Linked DNA regions of Homo sapiens: regions 1, 2, 3, 4, 5 and 7 are each linked to region 6. Evidence: promoter capture Hi-C in 16 types of primary human blood cells and fetal thymus (Javierre and others, 2016). All regions are on one chromosome and are shown on one strand. The core of a region is centred on a gene start or on the middle of the fragment in contact, and the rest is flanking DNA. Distances in the headings are between cores, read along the strand shown.

Evidence for each region. The method cuts DNA at HindIII sites, captures the fragments that hold promoters and counts their contacts. A CHiCAGO score of 5 or more calls a contact.
Region 1: a fragment that was not itself captured here is called in contact with the fragment with the promoter of OXR1 in region 6 in 1 of 17 cell types (megakaryocytes); the score reaches 5.3 in megakaryocytes.
Region 2: a fragment that was not itself captured here is called in contact with the fragment with the promoter of OXR1 in region 6 in 1 of 17 cell types (fetal thymus); the score reaches 5.1 in fetal thymus.
Region 3: a fragment that was not itself captured here is called in contact with the fragment with the promoter of OXR1 in region 6 in 1 of 17 cell types (fetal thymus); the score reaches 5.6 in fetal thymus.
Region 4: a fragment that was not itself captured here is called in contact with the fragment with the promoter of OXR1 in region 6 in 1 of 17 cell types (fetal thymus); the score reaches 6.4 in fetal thymus.
Region 5: a contact is called between a fragment that was not itself captured here and the fragment with the promoter of OXR1 in region 6, in 1 of 17 cell types (naive CD4 T cells). The highest score is 5.1, in naive CD4 T cells.
Region 7: a fragment that was not itself captured here is called in contact with the fragment with the promoter of OXR1 in region 6 in 1 of 17 cell types (fetal thymus); the score reaches 5.9 in fetal thymus.

Annotation. Positions count from the first base shown.
Region 1 is chr8:105,903,789-105,907,323 of GRCh38, reverse strand. All of the region lies in intron 2 of ZFPM2-AS1 (ZFPM2 antisense RNA 1), which reads left to right. Among named protein-coding and RNA genes, the nearest start is that of ZFPM2-AS1, 150 kb to the left of the region's middle. The HindIII fragment of the contact is 270 bases long and covers 1,845-2,114 here.
Region 2 is chr8:105,798,689-105,802,035 of GRCh38, reverse strand. It overlaps ZFPM2 (zinc finger protein, FOG family member 2), which reads right to left. Exons shown (of 8, transcript NM_012082.4): 7 at 3,088-3,312; 8 at 1-989. The region is part of intron 2 of ZFPM2-AS1 (ZFPM2 antisense RNA 1); the gene reads left to right. Among named protein-coding and RNA genes, the nearest start is that of ZFPM2-AS1, 260 kb to the left of the region's middle. The HindIII fragment of the contact is 1,565 bases long and covers 565-2,129 here.
Region 3 is chr8:106,625,881-106,629,262 of GRCh38, reverse strand. All of the region lies in intron 3 of OXR1 (oxidation resistance 1), which reads right to left. All of the region lies in intron 1 of OXR1-AS1 (OXR1 antisense RNA 1), which reads left to right. Among named protein-coding and RNA genes, the nearest start is that of OXR1-AS1, 30 kb to the left of the region's middle. The HindIII fragment of the contact is 1,068 bases long and covers 1,569-2,636 here.
Region 4 is chr8:106,660,905-106,664,284 of GRCh38, reverse strand. The region is part of intron 3 of OXR1 (oxidation resistance 1); the gene reads right to left. Among named protein-coding and RNA genes, the nearest start is that of OXR1-AS1, 4.9 kb to the right of the region's middle. RefSeq lists enhancers at 1-426, 2,898-3,380. The HindIII fragment of the contact is 6,673 bases long and covers 1-3,380 here.
Region 5 is chr8:106,643,936-106,647,107 of GRCh38, reverse strand. All of the region lies in intron 3 of OXR1 (oxidation resistance 1), which reads right to left. All of the region lies in intron 1 of OXR1-AS1 (OXR1 antisense RNA 1), which reads left to right. Among named protein-coding and RNA genes, the nearest start is that of OXR1-AS1, 12 kb to the left of the region's middle. The HindIII fragment of the contact is 2,466 bases long and covers 240-2,705 here.
Region 6 is chr8:106,268,753-106,271,868 of GRCh38, reverse strand. OXR1 (oxidation resistance 1) reads right to left here and starts at 1,679. Exons shown (of 17, transcript NM_001198533.2): 1 at 1,502-1,679. RefSeq lists silencers at 1,325-1,684, 1,705-1,954. The HindIII fragment of the contact is 2,469 bases long and covers 1-2,132 here.
Region 7 is chr8:106,603,321-106,606,457 of GRCh38, reverse strand. All of the region lies in intron 3 of OXR1 (oxidation resistance 1), which reads right to left. All of the region lies in intron 1 of OXR1-AS1 (OXR1 antisense RNA 1), which reads left to right. Among named protein-coding and RNA genes, the nearest start is that of OXR1-AS1, 53 kb to the left of the region's middle. The HindIII fragment of the contact is 649 bases long and covers 1,291-1,939 here.

The sequences.
Region 1 (3,535 bases), core at 730-3,229, 360 kb after region 6:
GTATAAGCCTATAATTGTGTTCATCTTTGTCATATTTCATAATGTTGTCATGGTTTGATCAATTATATAAAAGTTAACCATTGTGAAACAGATTTCTTTAGGAAAGGTAAACACATTCCAAATGCATTCATGCTATAGCAGAAAATCTATAGTCATGTTATTTATCCCCACCTAAATGTAAATGAACCTATTTTTGGTGAATGAATGAATATGGATGACGTTTGACTTTTCCACACATATAATTACTTCAGCATCTACAGATAACACAGATTAAATGCAATTTATTTGATTTATCCATGTTTTGTTGAATAGGGAAAAATTTTCTTTTACCTTTAATCAATGTGAAAAGTAATGAAATGCAATTGTTTTTCATTGCCTGCAAAACAAAAGAAACAATTTCATGGATAAAAATAAGTAGCTCTCATGCACTGAGATTTTATTAGACTAGGCCATTTTATTCTTTTGTGAAAAGGTTACTACCTATGTTTAAATTTCACCATTAGATAAATTTCATGAATTTCATGTAGTTCTGTAAAGTAGCTGTTCCAGAGAGTGCATTTTCCTCCCCTGGACTTTCTAATGTATTTTTTGAAAGGCCTGCCTCACAGAAATTAAACTCAATTTATACATTCAAAAAATCTGGTGAATATATAAATATGCTTTGAACATGTATTCTTAGATCATTTTTCTCTACTTCATTGTTTAAATAGGCAGCACCACCTGGTGGCTAAATAAAACAACTGAAATTTTTTACATCCTGAATATGGAAAAATGTAGATTCAGCAGAGGAAAAATATTTAATTATTTTTTACATTAAATTTGGGTTGCTCATCATAAGTTTCTTCTTTAAATAACGTCTAGTTTTTAAAATGCATACATCTAAACCATGAAGTTTTATCCATTGCTAATTATACTTATTTTCTATACTAGCTGTTAATATAATTGAAAAAATCACTTGTATAATTTTAATAATGTGATATTTAAAGTAAAGTTTAAACAACTTTTGAGAAAATCATCCTCAGGAGGCACTTTAATTCACTCATTAAAATTATCTTCTTGCAGTTTTCTTTGAAAGTAGTCTCATTTCTAACAAACCACAGTCACAGGAACTTACTATAAAACTTTACTCATAAAACACCAACAGAATTAATAAGAACTATTCAGAAAAAGACATGTAATTGTTACACTGTAATTATAGTTTTAGACCCAATATTGAGCTTCAGAAGAGGCATTTAATTCAAAATGTAATGCTACTGCCCTCTTGTGGTTTAAAATGCATATTTCCCTCTGGAAATAAAGATACAGTATCCAAATAAATAATAATTTTGATATTTAATGAGAAAACGGAGTATGAACTACTTTCACATTTGTCCACAGACATACAGTAAATAATCCATTAACTACCATAGATGAAGATTAGAATGTCTAGTAATTTTAGTATCATGATTAATAGAAAGTTAGTGATTAACTTATTTTACCCTCGTTTGGTGAGTGCAATTAACCACAAAAATCCCTTCTCACCTAACTTTTAGCATCTTTCACCAGTTCCATAATATAGATTTTGCAAATTCTATAGGAAACTAACACCCTCCAATTAATACTGGTATAATTAATTTACTTTCCTTATGTTAGGTGAAGAATAAACGGCTTCAAACCACTTAAAAACAAACAAAAAAAAATCCTTCCTCATTTTGCTTCTGTTTTCACCTGGGATGAGTTCAGAAGCCTTTTCCAAGGTCCAGAGCATGCATTTACCTTGCTGAAACACTTTTTGGCCCCTTGCAATTGTGGCACTGAATGGAAAACAAGCTTTAGACACACATTCCAAATGCAGCAGCCAAGCTTTTCCTTGTCACGCTGGCTCTGCTGCTAGAAAAGAATGATGCCTTTCAGATTTCTCCATATGAACAGAACTAATTCTCCAAGAGCGTGCTCTGGCTCTGCGTTTACATCTCTCACCTTGGATTGGGAGTGTTATCATGGATTAAAGGACAACAAGGAGGAAACAAAGAGGGATGATTCTGCCTTTGCTAAAACTCCAGGCACTGTAGGGCAAGAGTTTATTTTCCAACTGTCTGAAATTTCCTTTGGCTACTCCCTTCTCTGCGAAAGCTTGTGATGCACTTCCATTTAGAAAATAGGATTTTGTTATTATTGAGAAGAGGGAAAAACTAAAGCGATCACTTATATTCTGCTTTCATTTATTTAGCTACAGAGAAAACAAGCAGAGTCAACAGCAAAAGGGGGTGGTTGGTGCAAGGTACCACTCTGGCACCTGGCCTGGCATTCCTATGCCTCCCATGATCTTGGTATGCTGCTGTCCCCACCGGGGCCTTTTAACACAGGCCTTCACCCAAGTGGTTTTCTTTGATGAGGTAGCATTTCCTTTGTTTTTTATTTTTTCCTGGGTACATGTCTAGGATTTATCTAGCATGCCATTAACAGTCTTGTCTTCAGGAAGAAGCAAGAAATGACAGCAAGGGACTAAGGGGTCATGCAACTCAACATGTCCAAGGTTGTTTTTCAAAGATCTCCATGCCAATTCCTTTAGGTTTAACTTGAAAGCAGTATCTGCAAGAGGAGAGAGAAGGGCTCACATTACCTGGCTCAGAGTCTTATCCGTACTTGGCATGTCTTGGCCATCCGCTGAAGAAGCTGTTCTTGGTCCTCTATACTTTGCTACATGAAGACACTCATTTTGCTGCACAGTTGTCTTCTGTTCTGGCCTCCTCTTGACAATGAGTGATACAACATGGTAAAAATGTAGCAGCAAAAACTGAGCAGCTCACACCTTGAATACATTTCGATTGCACAGCTACTTCCTGACCTGTATGTAATTCTGCCACATGCCTGAGCTCTAGTGAGTCCTACACTTCCCAGAATTCACTCGGGTCCCTTCTCAGAAGGGGCTCTTACAGACCTCAGGTGAGATGAAGCAAGACCAGGTACTTTTCTGCCTCTCTTCCCCTGGGAGTCTTCATTTACAGTGCCAAGATTGCTCTTTCCTTACAAAGCTAGGTTGTTGCTGATACTGATTTTGAAAGTCAATAATACATTGTTTAGGGATAAGAAATAGTCGGTGCATAGGGTAGCAGGAGTTACCTAAGAAGGGAGAGACAAGATTTCAGTGAAAGGGCTCACAGGGTATTTCTAAGATCCTGTTAAAAATTTGTTTTGTAACTTCTCTGGGGGAACACAGAGTTTTACTTTATAATTACTTTTGTTTTTCTTTTTTTCTTTAAGACAGTGTCTTGCCCTGTCACCCAGGCTGGAGTACAGGGCTCACTGCAACCTTGAACTCCTGGGCTCAAGTGATCCTCCTTCTTCAGCCACCCGAGTAGCTAGGCTCCTCCTTTCTCAGCCTCCCAAGTACCTAGGACTATGATATGGTTTGGCTCTAGGTCCCCACCCAAATCTCATCTCAAATTGTAATTGTCGTGTGTTGAAGAAGAGGCCTGGTGAGATATGATTCCATTATGGGGGAAAATTTCGTCCTTGCTGTTCTCATGATAGAGTGATATCTCACAAGATCTGA
Region 2 (3,347 bases), core at 98-2,597, 470 kb after region 6:
CTTAGTTTGAGTGGAAAAGTCCTTGTCATGGCCCTTCCCATTTGGCCCAATTAAATCTAAGACAGTGGAAGAATTGATGCAAGATGTTTGAAGAAGTGGATTCTCAGGATCAGCAGAATGAGCAGCTGGGTTGAGAAGGTTTATGGAGGTTTGGCCAGTGTTGGGACTCAAAGCTTCAGGCATCTTTTCTGACACACTAGGGAACTCTGGGGACTTAGCCATCTGCTGCCATCGGCTGCTGCAATAATGCTTTTTGTGCACTAGATAATTATCCAAATTATTGAATGTTATGTTACACTCAAAACAAGTAGCCCCCTTGGGCATCAAAGGGCTGTAAATGACGGGAGGGTAGCTACTACTGCCATGCCTCAGTCGCCGATGCACCAGTTCAGACATCTTAGCTAAGATCTCTGAAGCTTGAGGGACCATGGTGATATCTTGGGGGAAAGAAAACTGAGATAGGAAAGGGCCCACAGGGAAAGAAGGCCCAATATTAGGCTGAACTGGAGATGAGGCAAGTCTTGGGCTAGAGGGCTCAGACTTTATTTTTGTGTAAGAAAAGCTTTGTTTATTTGTTGTAGGCTGTATCTCTGGTCTCTGGTTCGTGAGAAAGAGCTGAGTCTTTTTCTCACACTTGTCCAGCTCTGTGTCAGAGCTCGCATCTTTAGTCTGCATGGCCTTTTGGCTCTGGGGAAGTTCGCTTCTGGTCAATAAGTCTGTGGCTGGCTGTAAGCTGTCTTCAGTTGCACTTGGAGAGTGTTCCATGTCACTTTCTCTGGGAAGTTTGCCGCTAGGGACATGGAGCTCCTGGTGCTGCAATAACTCCCTCTGAGTCTGGAAGCCGAAATGGCAGTGATTACATCGGAAGGCAGCTTGAGTGAGATGGGAGAACAGGTGTTGGTGAAAGTTGATCACGGAATCAGCAGTGTAGCTACAGACGGTGCATTTTAGACTAGCACCAGGGGGCAGGAATTCTTCCATTTTCACTCCTAGAGAGACATACAAAATAAGAACAATGAGAAACATGTGTGTTGGTTTTTGAATGACAGGGACCTTTTCTAATGACCTAATGTTTGCAACACAATAGGAATGAAATCTTTCAAAATTTCATTCGTGATATTAACTGTTTTCTTGTGACATCTCTTACTGTGTATGATAATATTAATAGCACTTTATAGTTTTCAAAGTACTTTCATGAATATTATGGCATCAAAGTGGAATAAGTGTCAGTGTCTCCATTTTATAGATGAGGAAACACGCTGAAGGAGGCTAAAGGAATTGATTATGTTAATAAAGCTATTAAGTGATGAAGCCATGCCTAAGCCTTGGATTTTATAATTACTAATCTAATAACCTCACTATAACATTAGCCTCTACATTAGGAATAAGTGAGCATTCATTAGGGTTGCTATTGAAAACAATGCAAATCAAATAACTCTCAGTACACTACATATAGGTTATATTCTAAAGAGGCCAAATAGAAACCATTTTGTAAAGTAATTAATATAATCTTAATTTATATTAATATAAATTTAAAATTTTATGCAGTAGTTTTGCTGAACATAGTTTATCTCTATCCAGGGCTGATATTTAGCTGGTAGACTAATATAGTCTACCAGTACACTAATATAGTCATTTTGCATTGGCATCCATGCTGATTGATCACTGCCTATTTCTAGTCCATGATTAAATATTTTGAATATTACCATTGACTGTGGTGGGTAAGCATCACTAAGATTGACTCTAGCTCCCATTGGTCAGCATATGGTAAAATCAGGCTTGGCTTATCCCCTCTGTACTCTGGACTAGAATAAGACTGCCTTTTATATTCATAAGCTGAAAACATGGCAGAGGTACCTAGTCCTGTAGTCATAAAAGGGGACTACCTATCCTTGTCTCTTTTTCTCCTTAATGAATCTAATACTCATTTTTTTTTCCATTTAGCTTAAAGGACCCCTGTATTCTGTTCTTTTTGTTTTGTACATGACCTTACTCACCATCTGAGACAACCAATATGTTTCTGCTTCCCCTGCTTTATTATCTATATGAAGATAGCTCATTTGTAAGGAGAGGAAAGAGGATGAGCAGAAAGGAAATGACCTACTTTTACAGGTTCAAAGACAAAAGCTTGAACTGTACTAGAGCACTGGAGGTTAGAACAGTAGCTTAAAACTCAACATGTGTTTCCATTTTAAAATTATTTAATCTAGGCAAAGACCACTAAGAAAGTCACCCAGAGGTGTCCTACAAGGTTTGTATTATAGGTGCTGAAAAACTATGATTCTCAGTCCCTAGTTTGTCCCATGTAAGAATGTACCTAAAATTATTTAAAGTTAATAGAATTCTGTACATTTGAATAAATTCATTTTTTAAAAAATATGATAATTAGAATGCTATGAAATGAAACTAAAAATAGCTGGCATACAATTCCAAATTAAATAGAAACAGTTGCCACCTTGCTATTGAGAGGGCCTTAAAAAGCTTATTTGTTTTTCAGCCTATTTTTTTCTTAAGGGATTTTAAAACATAGTACTAAAAGTAGTTTAATGTCATAAAAACCACCTAAGCTGTTATGATGCATCTTTTGGAAGTCAGAAATATTTTACTGATCCATATTTAAAAGTAAACATCCCTGAACTGTAATTTTAATTAGATCTATCAATAGAGTAGCTTTATTTCAATTCAGCACACACTTATATTTATGTACCTATTATTTCTTCCCTACCATATAGGAAACACTATGATCAGTTTCCAAAGATTGCTTGACACTAAAGCAATAAATGGCAATATTCAAAGGGTATTGAGATTTTCTTTTTAAAATAATGTGCTTTTTTAAAACCTCAGTTGAGAACAAATAGAATGATTTGGCCTCTGAATTTGTAAGAAAAGAATTCAGACCCAAGTCCTTTGAGTAACATATGCTGAGTATAAGTGGCATAAGATCACACTGGTTGACCCAGAAAGTTTGATTTTGATGTTATAGATAGCTACAGATAGACAGATATAGACGTATACATGTAATGCATATATATTTATAAAAATAACAGAGTCTTCTGGAGCAACAGAAGAAACAAAAGGGGCATTTACCACTGTGTGAATTCAGGTGCATTTCTAGAGCTCGAGCATTTGAAAAGCTCTTGGTGCACTGTGGGAAGGGGCACAGGCTGGAAATCTGATGGGCACTGTCTTCATTTTCCTCTGACACCGGAGCAGCTTCTCTTTGCCTCCCACTGCAGTAGTACATCAAATGGGCCTGCAGATTCCGCTCACTCCGATACCAGATGCCACAGGACTTGCAAGGGAATATATCCTCTGCAGGTAAAAACACAAGAGACACATTTGCTGCT
Region 3 (3,382 bases), core at 853-3,352, 360 kb before region 6:
AGGACCATGAGGAAAAAAAAAAACAGACTTGAATAGCAGACTTAACACAAGGTATAACTAATCTTTAAAAAAATTTAAATGTTATTTTACTATCTAAGCACACCTTTTCTCTCCTTCAACTTTGTCTCTTCCTCATCTGGCAAGACAATCTCTCAAGTTTGGAGGGTGGGGGAGAGGAATGAAGTAAAAGAGGGTGATTTTGTCTTTTCTTCATTCTCTCTTACTCTGTTACGCTCTGAAGTCTGTCTTTGCTCTTTCATAATCTAGCTGAGTGTTAGTTGAAGTGTTAGTGCAGTTAAACATTAAATGGAAGCAGAAATGCAGCAGTTGTGAGAAAAGAGAGAGCCCACATACTTTAAAATTATCCTTGGAGTCTGTTTTATTCCTTCAGTTGTTCAACAGATATTGAATGCTGAACATCAAGATGCTAATCCCTGAGGGTACGAAGACAATGGAGACACAGTGCTGCATACGTGAAGTGCCAACAGATCAGAGGCATTAGATATACAGGTCAACCATTACACTTGAAGTATGATGCGTGTGAAGATGGAAGAGGATAGCAGAGAGGGGATGGGACATCTAGAAAGAGTCCAAGAAGTGAGGTATCAGCTAACCTTGGAGGGCAAGGAAAGCAAACCAAAATATTTTTTAGATACTGTAAGTTTTATAGTAATGGTTTTTAAAAAATGAATATTTAATCAAATGGAATTGTACACTAGGAAATGTGCCAAGCAACAGTAAAATCTATAAAAGCATCAATTTTGGAGTTGGAGAGATAAAATTCAACTCCATTTCTATCTATAGGTGTGACCTTGGGAAAGTTGCCTGACCTCTCAAAATCTGTTTCTTCATTTATAAAATGGAGTTTATAAAAGCATTTACATCTCTTGGGGTTGTATGAAGATTAAATGAGAGAATATGTATAAATTCCCTGCCCAGTCTTTGGCACCTGGTAAGATGATAAAGGGTCAATAAATGCTAGCTATTATGAAATATTTCTATATATTTTATCATCGAACCCTTGCAACAATCCAATGGACAGGCATTCCTAATGTCAGCTCTTTGGGAAAAGGACACAGAAAACAGGAGGTTCTAGGAATATAGGTTAGAAACCCTGAAAGACCCACATGTGCCATAATAAGGAGTTTGGACCACATGAAGAAGGCAATAGGAAATCTCCAAAGATTTTTAAAGGAGAGAACCAATGAATTTTACGTTTTAGAAATACTGTTAAGATGGCAGTGTGGATAATGGATTGGAAAGGCAGGGAGAAACCTGAAAGGTAGGAGTCCAGTTAGGAATTCTATGTAGTAAATCTCTCTGTGTAATAGTAAGCATGGGAAATCTGCTAAGTGCAATCATACAGACCTGCAGAAGGGATAGCTGGTGGATCCCCTGTGCCCTCAATCTCCACTTATTCCTATATCAATCCTGCTATGGTAAAGGCTTTAGGACTCACTGCCAAAATGCTTAATGCTTTCCACTATGAATCCCACCAGTAATGGTGGTCTCTTTATTGCTAAGTGGCATGAGGTTTTAATCATCTCCGAAAAAAGAGTAGGTAAGCTTCCTGCTGGAAATGAAAGAACTAAATGTCAGTATAATTGCTTCTTGGCTGCGGGGAAGAAGTAGAAAGATTCCCTAAAAACATTTGGGTAGTTCGGTAGCTTAATTTTTTTTGTCATCTTCATATGTTGATGATGTCATCATCATTAAGCCACTACATTGATTCAAGGGTAAATCAGACATAATAGAATTGATGTAAAACACAAATATAGAATATCTCACGTTACCACTTTTTAACCATCAGATGGCTATCATTTCATCTTTTTTTCTTTCAAAAAGTTGATTTTCCTTATCTCAACAGCATTTAGTATTTCCACTGTAAAACACCAGTCCTTTTCCACTATTTTTGTGGGAGAGTCTCCATATTAAAATGCATACATTTAAAAAGTAATGAATGCAAGGGAAGTTTAAGACATGTCGAAGGCTACTCTTCTCTCAAAACACCAGAAACTAAATAATTTGGAAGGAATGTTCTCTTATGTAACAACATCTGAATATATACCATGAGGAATCTGTGAGAAACCAAGTTTTCTTTTGAAATATCACTATTCTATCCTGAATTCTTCCCTTTACGGATGTGCTTCCAATCCAATTTTGCTTAATAGAATGTACTTTTTTTTGCCTTGGTTTTAGTTGTTTGCATAACATGTGCATGTACTTTGAGATACAGGTTGTTGTAGACACGAGAGGTTAACTACGGAGAAAAGCATCGAAACATAATAGAGGAAATGTATCCAAGCATTTCATATTTTTCAGGACTCGAATATTTTAAATAATATAAGAAAAAATATATCCTAGTGCTTTACAAAAGTTATTGAGCACATTAAAATCATGATGCATTTAAAATATGATAATTATAATATATATTTAAAAATTAATTTGAAATATTTATCACAACGCTAGTGAATAATAACCACAAAATTTTTTCCTCAAGTTTAAGATCTGGTAATAGTGATTTGTAAAAAATTATTACAGGGATCTACAATGTTAAATCAGGAAAGCAGCTTTGAGACTTGGCAGAAAAGTGAAATAATTTTTTTAAAGATATTATTAAACACATACCTCAAGCTTAATAAATGTGTAAGTGTTAAAAAAAAAAAAAACCTAAGAAAATGAGCTACTTTTAAGGTAAAAAAAAATTTACAACATGGATTTAATAATTCAGACAGAGAAGGTGTTAATAAACCAGAAAACCAAAGCAAAAATAATTACATTAATGTAAAAATATGAAAAGGACTGAATGAAAAGGGAAAAGACACCAAACTTCAATCAAGGCCATGCCATACAGAGAATGACATGTGTAGAAATACAACTAAAATTATAAAAACAATAAGCAAGAAACAGGAAAGACTTTTTTTTTTTAGAAAATGAATTTTAAAGATAACCTTCATCTTATCATCTGCATAGGGTGAAACGGCTTTTTAGTTAATAGTTGAGTCAGTAAATAATATACTTCTATATAATATCTTTTTAAAAATTTTTTTTACAAGGAAAAACAGGATTAGCTATCTTTTGCCTCTAAAAAGTAGGCTTGATAGCTTCAACACTGGAATATTTTTAATGTATCTAGATTGTTTTTTCAACTTAAGAAAATTGTCTTTTTTCTTGTAAGAACTTATGCTATAAGACACACACACACACACACACACACAAAACGCAGAACAGAGCACAATAGTACTTCTTGATAGAAAATATTTTTTAATTCTAAAAATTATACATTAGTATTTGAAAAGATATAAAATTAAAAGCAATTTTAAGCATATAGAGAAAAAAATATGTATTAAATATAACTGAAATTCCTAAAAAGACATATATA
Region 4 (3,380 bases), core at 372-2,871, 390 kb before region 6:
CTGTTGCATGCTGAAGTTTGAGAATCATCAGCTTATTTTAGAGGCAGTTTTGTTCTACAACATAGATAATACAGAACTTCCTATCAGCTATCCTGTGAGACAAGCAGCAATTCTAAAACAGGCAAATCAACCTCATGCCTGAGAACCACTGAACTAAATGATACACTATTAAGAAAGGCTAACTAGTTGGGAGTTACCACTAGAGCCCACTGAGGTTGCCGATCAAGTAGAGAGTATTCTCTTCCTCCCATCCGGCTTTAGGAAAAGAGACTAAAACTGGGGCCAGCTAGGGTTATCTTCTACCAACACTGTGAGTTTTTTGTTTTGTGGTGGTGGTGGTTGTTTTAAAAAGTTACTGTAACAACTGGTACACTCCAGGTCTCTTAAAGCAGTGGTCCCCAACCTTTACGGCACCAGAGACAGGCTTCATGGAAGACTATGGATTATGGACATGTGGGCAAGGGGTGGGGGATGGGGAGAGAGATGGCTTCTCAATGAAACTGTTCCACCTCAGATCATCAGGGATTAGACCTTGCATGTGCAGTTCACAATAAAGTTCACACTCCTATGAGAATCTAATGTCCCCACTGATCTAACAGGAGGCAGAGCTCAGGCAGTAATGCTGGCTCGCTTGCTGCTTACCTCCCGCTGTGCATCCTGGTTCCTAACAGGCCATGGACCAGGGCTGGGGACCCCTGCCTTAGAGGCACTTGGTCCTCCTGGGTTCAAGATAAACCATCATCTAACTCTTAACACATCATCTGAGGTGGCAATTTCCAACCTAATATATACCTAATTTTTCTCACACCCTCATTGGATTTTGCATTTCCAGCTCTGTCATTTTACTATCTTTCTAACTCTAAAGAACCTTCAATGACAATCCATTCTATCCTTTACAATCTTAACTAATTTAACTTTAATACCTTACATGATAGAATTTTAATTCTTCTCACATTTTTCCCCTATCTCAAGGACTGTAACTCTTGCAAATACTAAGAAAACACCCAAATAAATTCTGAATTTCTCACTTCTTTCTTTGGCTCAGATTTTTCAAAAGGAAAATAGGATAATAATAGTACTATGTCATCAGGTTTTTATTAGGATTAAATAAAAAACTTTTGCTCAGAGCCTGCCCCATTACAGCTATCATTCTTGCTATAGGCTGAGTACCACTTATCTGAAATGCTTGGGAACAGGAGTGTTTTGGATTTTTTTGAATCTTCCTAAAGGATAGGATGGATTTGGAATATGTGCATTACTGATTGAGCATCCCAAATCCAAACATCCAAAATGCTCCAAAGAGCATTTCCTTTGAGCATCATGTAGGCCCTCAAAAAGTTTCAGATTTTGGACTTTCTGATTTGGGATGCTCAACCTGTATTACTACTTCTGTTATTACTACAAGTATCATCATCATCATCATCATCATCATCATCATCATCATCCCATTTACTGAAATAGACATTACCCCCAATCCAAGCAAAACATGATATTTTACACCCCCCAATATTAGGTTAGAAACCCTTCTTATATACTCCCATAATATATTTTACATTCCATGCCCAATAACCAACACAGTTATAAATTCTTTGTCCAATGTCTATTTTCCCAACTAGACAGGATCATTAATGAACCTCAGTACCCTCACCAGTAAAATGAAAATGCTACTATTAATTACCTCATAGGGTTGTTGCTGAGGGTTAACTTGTGCGTAAGACACAGCAAGCACTATATGTTTTGTCTATTATAATTATTATTCCATGTCTTGGTTTACATTTTCCATGATTATCAAAAGTGAACCAGTAACAAGAATATCAATCTCAGGCTTCTAAACGCTTCTCCTTCAGTTACATACATTCAGTACATAGGATTTGCTTAATGTAAACCTAAAATGAAACTTCAGCAACAGGGATAATCATTTAAAAAAATATTATTATTAAATAGTTTTTCCTTGACATGTCAAATAATTCAAGTCATAAAAATGTAATACATTCCCACTTAACTTCATTTTTCATCAACTCTATTGATATACACACACATACCAGTAACATATATGCTATGAGGCAGAGCAGTTTTAGGTGCCTAGTACAACAATTTGCAACTAAGGTCTATGGTTGGTATTACCAGATGTTAATGTCCCAGATTCAAAGTTGAAAGAACTGTTGGCTACTGAAGTCAGCACTTCTGCATAGGAGTAGCCATTTTAGCAGAACTGTTCCATCACTGCTGCTACTACTGCTATCCACCATTGTCATCCTCCCACTAAGGGGCCAAAAAGGACTAAAATGAAAAAGTGGACCCCTGCTTCTATTCCTTCCCACATCCCAACATCAGAGGAGTTAATGCATCAAGAAGGGGTGGAGGGGAGTTTGTGAGAGCTAGACCACACCTCTTCTCCGCTACCAACCTAACTTGGAATGGGAACTGAGGTAGAAAGGTAAATGGAGATATAAATTGAATATGAGACTGAAATTTTTAAATAAATGGACCAAGTCTTAAATAACTGAAAGATAGTTTTAATTGCTAAAAATAAATGAAAAGAAAATGTAAAAGGGCTGAGTTGTGCTCAAAGAATCCTGTCACCAAGTGGGAAAATGAGGTTGATATAATAGGACGCTTATGATAAAAACGATTTCATGTTTATACGACAGTAAGTTGAGAGTCTACACTAGTAAAATTTATCTATATTTATTACAATATAATCTAGTGAAGTGAGTACTTTTAAAGATTATACATTATGAGTTATAGTTATGCCCCCAAACAAGAGCTATATTTAAAGTTCAAAACAATTTTTTAAAATCAAAGCATAATGTACCCGTTAATCAGGAACAAGCATTGTATTTTAAGATGTTTCCTTTGTAATTGTTATTAACTAGATCAATGGTGTGATAATGTCCTTAATATGTCTAAGTCTCAATTATGGTTTTCCTGAGAGGGCTATAATGATGGAGCCAGCAAGCACTAAAAGCTGGTAAGAGCAAAAGCAGCCACCTTGGAGAGGAGTAAAGGAAGGAGAGACATTAACAGTTCAGTAAGTGGTTTCTTTATAGAAAGGGTAAACTCAGAAACATTGACCAAAGTTTTTTTTGGTTTTGGTTTGTTTGTTTGAGATGGAATCTTACTCTGTCACCCAGGCTGGAGTGCAGTGGTGTGATCTTGGCTCATGGCAACTTCCACCTCCCAGGTTCAAGCAATTCTCCTGCCTCAGTCTCCTGAGTAGCTGGGATTCCAGGAGTGTGCCACCATGCCTGGCTAATTTTTGTTTTTGTTTTATTTTTGAGATGGAGTCTCGTTCTGTGGCCCAGGCTGGAGTGCAGTAGGGCGATCTCACTGCAACCTTGCCTCCTGGGTTTAAGCGATTCTCCTGCCTCAGCCTCCCG
Region 5 (3,172 bases), core at 223-2,722, 380 kb before region 6:
CAATTATAATTGAAACTTGGGTCACAATAAGTGACATCAACTTACCATAGAATTATTCCAGTTCTATTTTTAATCCTATTAAAGACAGTAATTACAATGGTATAATTACAGCCCCCAAATACTCCATACCTGGAATGTGGCAGCTTCTGGAGCTTTTGGATCAGTTTCACTCAGCTCATTGGACAAGTGCCAATTGGTATTACCAATGGTGCTTAAAGTTCTGAAAACTCAATAAAGCTTTAAAAACCTTGAGGAACAATAGCTCATCAGGACACCCAAAGAATAATGTTACATCATGAAGACAAACATTCTCATTTTCTTTCTTCTGCAGATTTCTTTTCCTGCCTGCACTTTCTTTGAGGTTGCAGTAGAGAGTGTGTGTCTACAGAAGGTACTGTATGCATAGCTATAAGGAGGTCTTACCCTCTGTCTTTTTATCTTTCTGGGCCCTTCTTTACCCTTGTTCTTCCTCTTCTCCTCTCTTAATTCTATAATGGGTCTTCACATATTGCTGTACCTTCTCATGTTACTTGAATAGAATTTTGATACTTAATCTGAAAAGCTGATAAGTGAAAACATTTGTTTTGTGGTATATTAAGTACTTTATTGAAATTATTAATTTCACATATTTTAAAGTTATATAGCTTTTAGCTAATTTTTTGGATAATTTCCCTATCTTTGTTTTTATTAAAGATAATAGGGCCAAGCGCGGTGGCTCATGCCTGTAATTCCAGCACTTTGGGAATCTGAGGTGAGCAGATCACCCTGAGGTCAGGAGTTTGAGACCAGCCTGGCCAACATAGCGAAAACCAATCTCTACTAAAAATTACAAAAATTAGTCAGGCTTGGTGGTGTGCACCTGTAATCCCAGCTACTTGGGAAACTGAGGCAGGAGAATCGTTTGAACTTGGGGGGCGGAGGTTGCAGTGAGCCGAGATCACGCCACTGCACTCTAGCCTGGGCAACAGAGTGAGACTCTGTCTCAAAAAAAGAAAAAAAAAAGATAATAGAGAAAAAAGAAGATGAACAGGCAAAATAATATTGGAAAAACCTAAATCTGTTGCCAGCACATTTCCAGCTTTAACCTGTAACCAGTAGTTAGGTAGTTTTTTGTTGTTGTTGTTCCTTCTGTTGGGGGAAAGTCTATAACTGGGGCTGTGTCAATACAAGATGAAATGAAGTACAATAAAAAGAGAGCCTACCTATAAGTTCATCCATCTCAGAGAAAGTGCTGGGCAGCAATGACAAATTTTTATCAATTGTCCAAATGTTTCAGCCATGATGCATGAACAGCAAACTCCTAAGTGCTGTACATAATGTTTGAAAGGAATAGAACTTATTCCTCTTCCCAAAGTAGATGGGAGTTCCCTAACTCCCCACCTCCCCATACCAAACACAATCTGGGAAAGATGCTAATATCCCCAGGTGAATCAGCCCAAAGGCAGTCAGCATATAGGAAGAGAAATTCAAACCTAGATGGTCAATCTTTAAATGATCCAGCACTGACTAGACAGGTTTAGTTTTCAAGCAGAATCATGCACTGGTCATTTTCTTCTGTTGCAGATCTACTCTAAATTCTCAAGTCTTCCTAGAGAACAGTAGACACAGCAATATAACCAGATTCAAAACTCAAATCTATGCTGCCCTAACAGGCTTGAAGGAAAGTTGGATCATTTCTAATTGCCTCTCAAGAGAGAAGCAGGGCATGCCTAGGCACCTCAGCCCCACCTACTATCCACAGACTCATATGGGTGCCAAGCTGGCTATACAGCCACCACCACCAGTAGAATTTATCAAATGCATTGAACAAGGACTGGTTGGCAGCCAATTTGTACCTACCCTACTGGTTTTCTAGGAGTCCGGAAGGAAGGGTTGGGGATAAGATTCTTAAATATACAGAGACATCAACAACATTGTTAGGCCCTCAGATTGAGCTAGTTCTGCTAACACACTGCATGATATGTAAGCACATGCATTTGTGTTTGCTCATTAGAGCCTATACATTATGTAGTAAAATGAAATCTCCCAGCTTCTACTTTACCCCCTCTTTAATCGATCTCCAACACTGCAGCCAGGGTAATCTTAAATCCGCCAATCTAAGTATTGCCTTTTCTCCGCTTTAAAAACACTCCTTGTTCACAGCAGCAGCTGCCTGTTGATAATGAGAATCAGCTGTGGAACTTTTTAAAAAATTAAAATTCTCCAACTATACGCAGAGATTCTGGTTCCATGGCTGTAGGGTGGGGAACTCAGGAACCTCAATTTTTAAATTATAAGCCACGTTTGCGGCCTGCTACTTTAGTTCTTCCAAATGGTTTTTGCATATTTAGTTCATATGAGTCACACAATGACTTCCGAAAAAGGTCCATGAGACTAGATCTGGCAACCACCGAGCAGTGATGTATGTGTTTCACATACGTGTGCAAAGAACAGGCGCTGTTTAAAACTGCCAGTGTTTTACGCTCCAGGTGCCTCAGCCCCTGCCTCAGCAGCTAAGGATATGATGTGCACAGGACGGTACAGCTACAAGATGGTGGAGCCTCCATCAGTCTGGATCCCTATGTAACTATATGGATCAGAGCCCCTGCTCCCAATACAACCCAAAATTGGATATGTAAGAGGAACAAGAAATACATCAAGAAATATACACCTATTTCAGCAAGTCACTTAGGTTTAGGGGTTCATTTGGCATCACAGAATAAGCTTAGCTTATTTTGACTGATAGATTTTGCAAATGATTAAGTTACATTTTTAATGATATATTAATATGCTAAAGATCACCTGATTTGTTAATGATTTTGCTTTTCAATTGTCTCTTGCCATGTCTATATTCTGAAAAGTATTCTGAGATTGCGAAACTATTCATTTACCTTTTGTGTATGTGAATAAGTATTTTCTTAATACAACCAGAGGAAAACCAACAAACAACAAAAGCAAAATGGGGAGAATGCGGAGTTGCTGAAGCTAAAAAGAATCTGTCGATCATTTATCCTCCCAGTTTAAAAATTTGGTTTCCTATCAGCCTTATTCTCTCAATAAATATCTTTATAATCAAAATGTAAATTTGAACTTGTAAAACACATGTAGGCTCATAAAATGCCATTTTTATGTTTTACATACTGTTCTCCCATAAAAGTACACTAGAAAATGGTTGAAAATAATTACTTTAAGA
Region 6 (3,116 bases), core at 430-2,929:
GACTCCCAGGATTCCCTTCCATAGAGGGAGTCCACGGTGGTCGCAGCCGGCGGCTGAGTCCTCCTTAGAGTGCCGAATCAGAGAAGACCCGCATCAGGTTTGGGATGTAAGTGGAGAGGGAGAGGTTAGAAAGAGGCATCATTGGATAAGCAAAGAATGCTACCCTGGGAAAAGGAGGCAGAAAAGACGTAGGGAAGTATGTTCCCCTTAATCCCTTCCCCGTGCCGCCCGTAGATCCCTGGATCTTCTTGTCACGGAGACAGGCTGCAGCCACACACGCGACCCCGGGCCGGAAACATGCACACGCGCGCGCACACACGCACACACACGCCCCGCTGCGAGTTGCACGCTGCAGACTTCTGCCTGACTTCCCGGCCAAAAACACCGCACCTCTGGGGCCAGACCACGAATTCCTGTGGCCTAGAACTGACACCACTCCCCCTACCCCCGCAATACACACATTCAGACCCTACACTGCACCCTGAGCGTGCCGGGAACCACTGAACGGAAGCCCGAGCAGCTCCCCCCGTAAACGACTACCTTCCCCACTGCCTAATGTCTATTTAAATCTCCTAAAGCTCGCCTACAGCGAGCCGAGGTGCGTCCAAGCCGGGTAGTAGACGGAGGAGGAGCCAGGGGTGAAAGTGAACCTCAGATAACAGTACTAAATCACTATTCAAGGGGCGGCACGGGGAAGCCTCCAACCCTCTCCTGAACCTTTCAGGCCCTACCAGCAGCCCAGTTCCTCCGCCCGATACTGCACAGCTCCCCCCCTCTTCACCCAAATCCCTCAGCGATTTTCCAGTCGGCCCTCCAGGCCACTTTCTACATCCATCCTTTCCCCAGCCAGTTCCCAACATGTGGCCTCGGGTACTCTAGCGGGAGACAGATTCCAGGCTGACTCCATCATGATGTGCCCCCTAGCCTTTTACTGATTCCCCAAATTATCCGAATCCACTCGCCCCTCCGGAGCCCACTGTCCCTTCCACCGGCGTCCTTTGCTCTCGTCCAAATCCGCTTTCCACGCGCCCCACTTTCCACCCATCCTCCTGCCGTTCTGTTCAAGACACGCTTGCCCTCCACTCTGCGCCCCCAACACTGCTCTCACGCTGCTCCCACTCTATCCCCCGGCGACACCCCCACTTTCCTTCTGCGGCTGTCCCTGGCCGGGCTCCCGCGCCCCAAACCCAGCCTCCCCGCCCGGTCTCCTCCCTCGCCGCCCGGTCTCCTCCCTCGCCGCGCGGTCTTTCCTTCTTCCCAAGTCCGCCCTCTGGGCCCCCGCTGGAGCTAGTTCTGCCCTCCTGCTCTGCCCGTCGTCCCCGCTCGAGCATCCCAATGGCCACCCGCTTTCAAATTGGCTAAGTGGCTCGGAGAGGCGCCAGGCACAGGGGGCAGAGGCCAGCCGGCTCTCCCGGGCGCCAGCCGCGCCTCTCGCTATCCCTCCTGGACTCCCCCGGGCGCCAAGCCCTCGCCCTAACGCCCAGCAGCCTCACAAACTTACTTGCGGGTCGCCAGGAGGGGGCTGCGGTGAGCGGCGGCGGGCCCCGCGGCGGCGAGTGCGCCCCTCTCGGCGGGGCTGGGCGGCGCGGCGCCGGCGCTGAGCTCCTGTGGCCGCGAGGTGAATGGGCTCAGCCTGACGCAGCCCAGCTCTAGCCCCGCTGCTGCCGGCGCCGCTGAGCGCTTGCAGACATGCTCAGTTTCCGGACCTGCCCGCGTGGAAGCTACCAAGAGCCGGCAGCGGCGGGGGAGACTGAGAGGAGCCGTGGGGCGCCGCGAGCCGGAGGCTACCACGCCGGGGGCGGGGGGAGGCACGCACCGCTAAAAATAGCTCCTGCGGAAGCCACGCTGGCTTAGCGCGCACCCCTCCCCGCGCGCGGCCCCTCTGGCTGGGGTTCGGGTTTCTGCTCTGGCTACCGCGGTGGGGACCCCAGCTCGCCGAGTCCTGCCAGGCGTCTGCCTGCACTAGGATCCCCATCCCGGTGGAGACGGCGCCTCCAGTTCAGGCGCCCACTCGAATAGCCTGGACTAAGCCAGAGCTGCCCCGATTTCGGGGTCCCGCCTGTCGGGCAGCTCTAATACTAGGCTCTCCCTAGAGAAGCAGAGGAAAGTTTTGTTAAAGCGATAAAAAAGCTTCTGCAAGGAAAGCTGCAAGGAAATTTGTTCAGATTTACGGAGGAAAAAAATGTTCTTCAGATGCTTTGGTTGCTGGGAAAAACAAGGAGGAAAGGAAGGCGAAGTCTGACAGCCTAGAAAGGGACCCAAGGCAGCTTGGAGCGGGCTGAAGGGGGTTCTGCAAAGAGCTTCTAAAATTCAGAATTCTTTGCAAGGCGTTTGTGACTCCTCATTCCGCAGTGTTTTGCATAATTCGTTGACACCCCACCCTGACCTTGGAGATTTTCTTGTTCCTGTCACCTGAACTGTAATTTACTTTCTCCGCATGCTGCCTTCACTCCTTCCCCCTCCAACCCGGTTTTAAATTGCAAAACGAAAAGGGCGCAAACTCTGGATGGGTAGATTCCCAGACCTGAACTGGAACCTGGCTGTTCTGTAACCCTGAGGAAAGGAGCTGGTCCTGTTGCCGAGTTCGGGATGTATCCCAGATCTCCTGTGCATCCAGCAAACACTTCAAGCGTAGGAGCCTTTCAGCCACCTCACCTGCAAATTAGCTATTTCCCGCTATTAGTGTTCACTCTATTCTACCTTAATTTCTGATCATTTATTATTATTTTTTAATTCTGTTCTTTAAAGTAAGAGGTACAGATATTTCCTGGGTCAAATTTCCGTCTTGTTTCACTCACCTCTCACAGCCACCCAATGAGAGAATCATTATTATTCCCATTTGACAGACAGGGATGTTGAAATTTAGCGACAGGAGCTCATCGCTTGTCTGGAATAATAGAGTGTTGAACCTAGGGTCGGCCAGACTAGAAACTTTCATGGTTTCCGCATAACCTATTTCCCCGAGTCAATAGCTTTACCTGAGATAAGGGATCAAGAAAATTAGATACTATTCTGAGTGGCGTGGCGTGTCAACAGTAAGCCGATTGATAAGCCGATTGCGGGTTTTGTTCTCCATTATTTTTACCTAATTTCTTTACGAGCATTCGCAGCTTAAA
Region 7 (3,137 bases), core at 366-2,865, 330 kb before region 6:
ATGATGGCACATGCCTGTAATCTCAGCTACTAATGAGGCTGAGGAAGGAAAATCACTTGGACTTGGGAGGTGGTGGTTGCAGTGATCCGAGATTACACCACTGCACTCCAGCCTGGGCAACAGAGTGGGACTCTGTCTCAATAAATAAATAAATAAATAAATAAATAAAGAGTATCATAGTGATATGCTCTAAGGAAGACTTGCTGGGACATTGCTGGCTTTGACGATGGTAGGTGGCCAAGAGCCAGGGAAAGTAGGGGGCCTCTAGAAGCTAGAAAAGGCAAGAAAATGGATTCTCCCACAGGGCCTCTAGAAAGGAGCACAGACCTACTGACACCTCGACTTTAGCCCCAGTGAGATGCATTTTGGACTTCAGAATGCTGGGACTTAATATAATAAATTTGTTTTAAGCCACTAACTTTTGCATGACTTGTCACAACTGCAATAGGAAACATAATACATCTGGTAAACACTTTGCATCCCATAGTGAGGTGGGATTATCATCCACATTTTATTATTATCATCCACATTTTATTGAAAATAAAAATAGAGACTTAGAGAAGTCATATGTTGTTTCAACCTAAGTAGGAAGTGGGAGATATCAGATTTGAGGTGTTTTTTGTGTTTCCTTTATTTTATTTTTTCTTTTTCTTTTTTTGGAGACAGGGTCTCCCTCTGTCACCCAGGCTGAAGTGCAGTGGCACCATCTCGGCTCACTGCAACCTCCACCTCCCGGGTTCATGTGATTCTCCCACCTCAGCCTCCTGAGTAGCTGGGATTACAGGCGCCCACCATGCCCGCCTAATTTTTTTTTTTTTTTTTTTTAGTAGAGACGGGGTTTCACCATATTGGTCAAGCTAGTCTGGAACTCCCGACCTCAGGTGATCCACCTGCCTCAGCCTCCAAAAGTGCTGGAATTACAGGTGTGAGCCACCATGCTAGGCCCAGATTTGAGGATTTTAGGAATGCCTTTGTTCTCACCATTAAATCCTAGCTATTTCTGGTCTGGCTTTTCCCCTACAGAATGTGGTTGGCTCAATTAAAGCAGGTCACCAGGCAACTCCAGGCTGAGTCTTGTTGGAGAATAAAGTAGAATATCTGTCCTGTACAAATAGACCTAAGACAGAAACCAGATTAGCATTGCAGAAAGTCAACCATACCCTATCTGTGTGTTTTAATTGCTAGAGTTTTGATTTGGATAATGTCTTTTTAAAAAATTTTAGCTTTCAAGTATAAAATATTACAGATTTTATCTTTATGAATTATACAGCAAACTCTTCTAAAAAAGCTTGGCTTTCCCAGTGGCATCTTGTCAGCCACATGTTTTCAGCACAAAGGAACGATTTTGCCCCAGTGCAAATTAAAAGTCCCAGGCTCTCACCTCCTTCAACTTGTAAGATTTTAAGAAATCTAAGTTGAAGAGAGCATTATGTAGCATCTGACCTATTAACTGCTTGTAATCTGAGGTGGCTTTTACCCAGGATGAATGACATCCTGAGTGACCTCAAATCTTTTGTGAAAAGAAATGTGTGAATCACAGGCATATACACGTGCCCAGGCCCACACAAACACACTTACAGGCTTTTGCACACAGATAAACAGCTTCAATCATTTCTGAAATGCTTCCTTCTTAGTATAACCTTCAGGCATATTACATAAACTTTTTGCAGACAACTCTAGGAGAACAAACAAGAAAAACTTATGTCACAATTATCGAAAGATAGGCTTCTTCCATGTTATTGCAAACAGCTGTACAACCATTTGTTAAGCATCTGTTTCCTAGAAACGTTTATTCAATAAAACTCTTCCTCTCTCCTTTTTGTCTCAAGTTTAAGGTCACGCTATCAAAATATGTTAGTAAAGAAACTCAGTTTTGTTACTGGATATATTGTCTGCATCTGTCAGAGTTCAAAAGCAGTGCTTTTTAATGCTGCAAGCTTTAATACCTATAGAATTTTACAAAAAGCTAAATATCCTATCTGGTTTGGAGGATATCAATAATACTGTATACGGGTGGCTCACACTTGTAATCCCAGCACTTTGGGAGGCCGAGGCGGGTGGATTACTTGAGGTCAGGAGTTTGAGACCAGCTTGGACAACATGGTGAAATCCTGTCTTTCCCTGTGAAAGCCAAGACCCCTGACTTCAAGCATCGTGGCTTATCCCTTCACCCATAGGAGTCATAATGCTTTTGACATTTTTGCCCCTGACACATTTTTAAAAGGTGTTTGAAAATATATTTAAAGATTAGTTAGGGGTTTCAAAAGTATACTTGGTTTGTGGCCAAGTGCTATGGCACACAGTTAATAGACGGTATACACCTGCTTTTTAAAAAGTTTTCCCATTTAATCCCTGCAAGTGTTCAGGTTTCTTCTGTTTTTTGTTTGTTTGTTTGTTTGTTTTTTGAGATGGAGTCTCACTCTGTTGCCCAGGCTGGAGTGCAGTGGCACTATCTCGGCTCACTGCAACAACCGCCTCCTGGGTTTAAGCGAGTCTCCTGCCTCAGCCTCCCGAGTAGCTGGGACTACAGGCATGCACCACCACGCCCAGCTAATTTTTATATTTTTAGTAGAGAGGGGGTTTCACCATGTTGGCTAGGCTGGTCTTGAACTGCTGACCTCAAGTGATCCACCCGCCTCAGCCTCCCAAATTACTGGGATTATAGGTGTGAGCCACTGTGCCCGGCCCTGTTCTTGATTTTTAAAGCAATTTTACAGACTTGCTTTCTAAGACATCTTAAAGTACTCTTTATTAAAATTTAAAGCTCTATTCAAACCTTTCTTTTTAAGGGAGAATTACACGTTCCATATTAAAAGTTTTGGCAATATAGAAAAGCAACAAAAACAAAATAACAATCACCCATCATAAACCCATCACCCAAAGGGAGCTATTATTAAATAATACACACTCTCATTCACTTAATACACCTCTCATAACTGATTCTTGAAATACGTTGTGGAGGTTTTACTTGACAGTTTTAGCTGAAAAAGATGGTAGTATTATCTACCATATACCATTTAAAAAATACAGAAAAGCCAGATGAAAAATGTTACTGACTTTTTTTTTGCTTTTTATTTTATATAGGCAAGGTGTAAAAATAACTATACACTGTATGTTTTTAGAAAAAAGCTGATTTG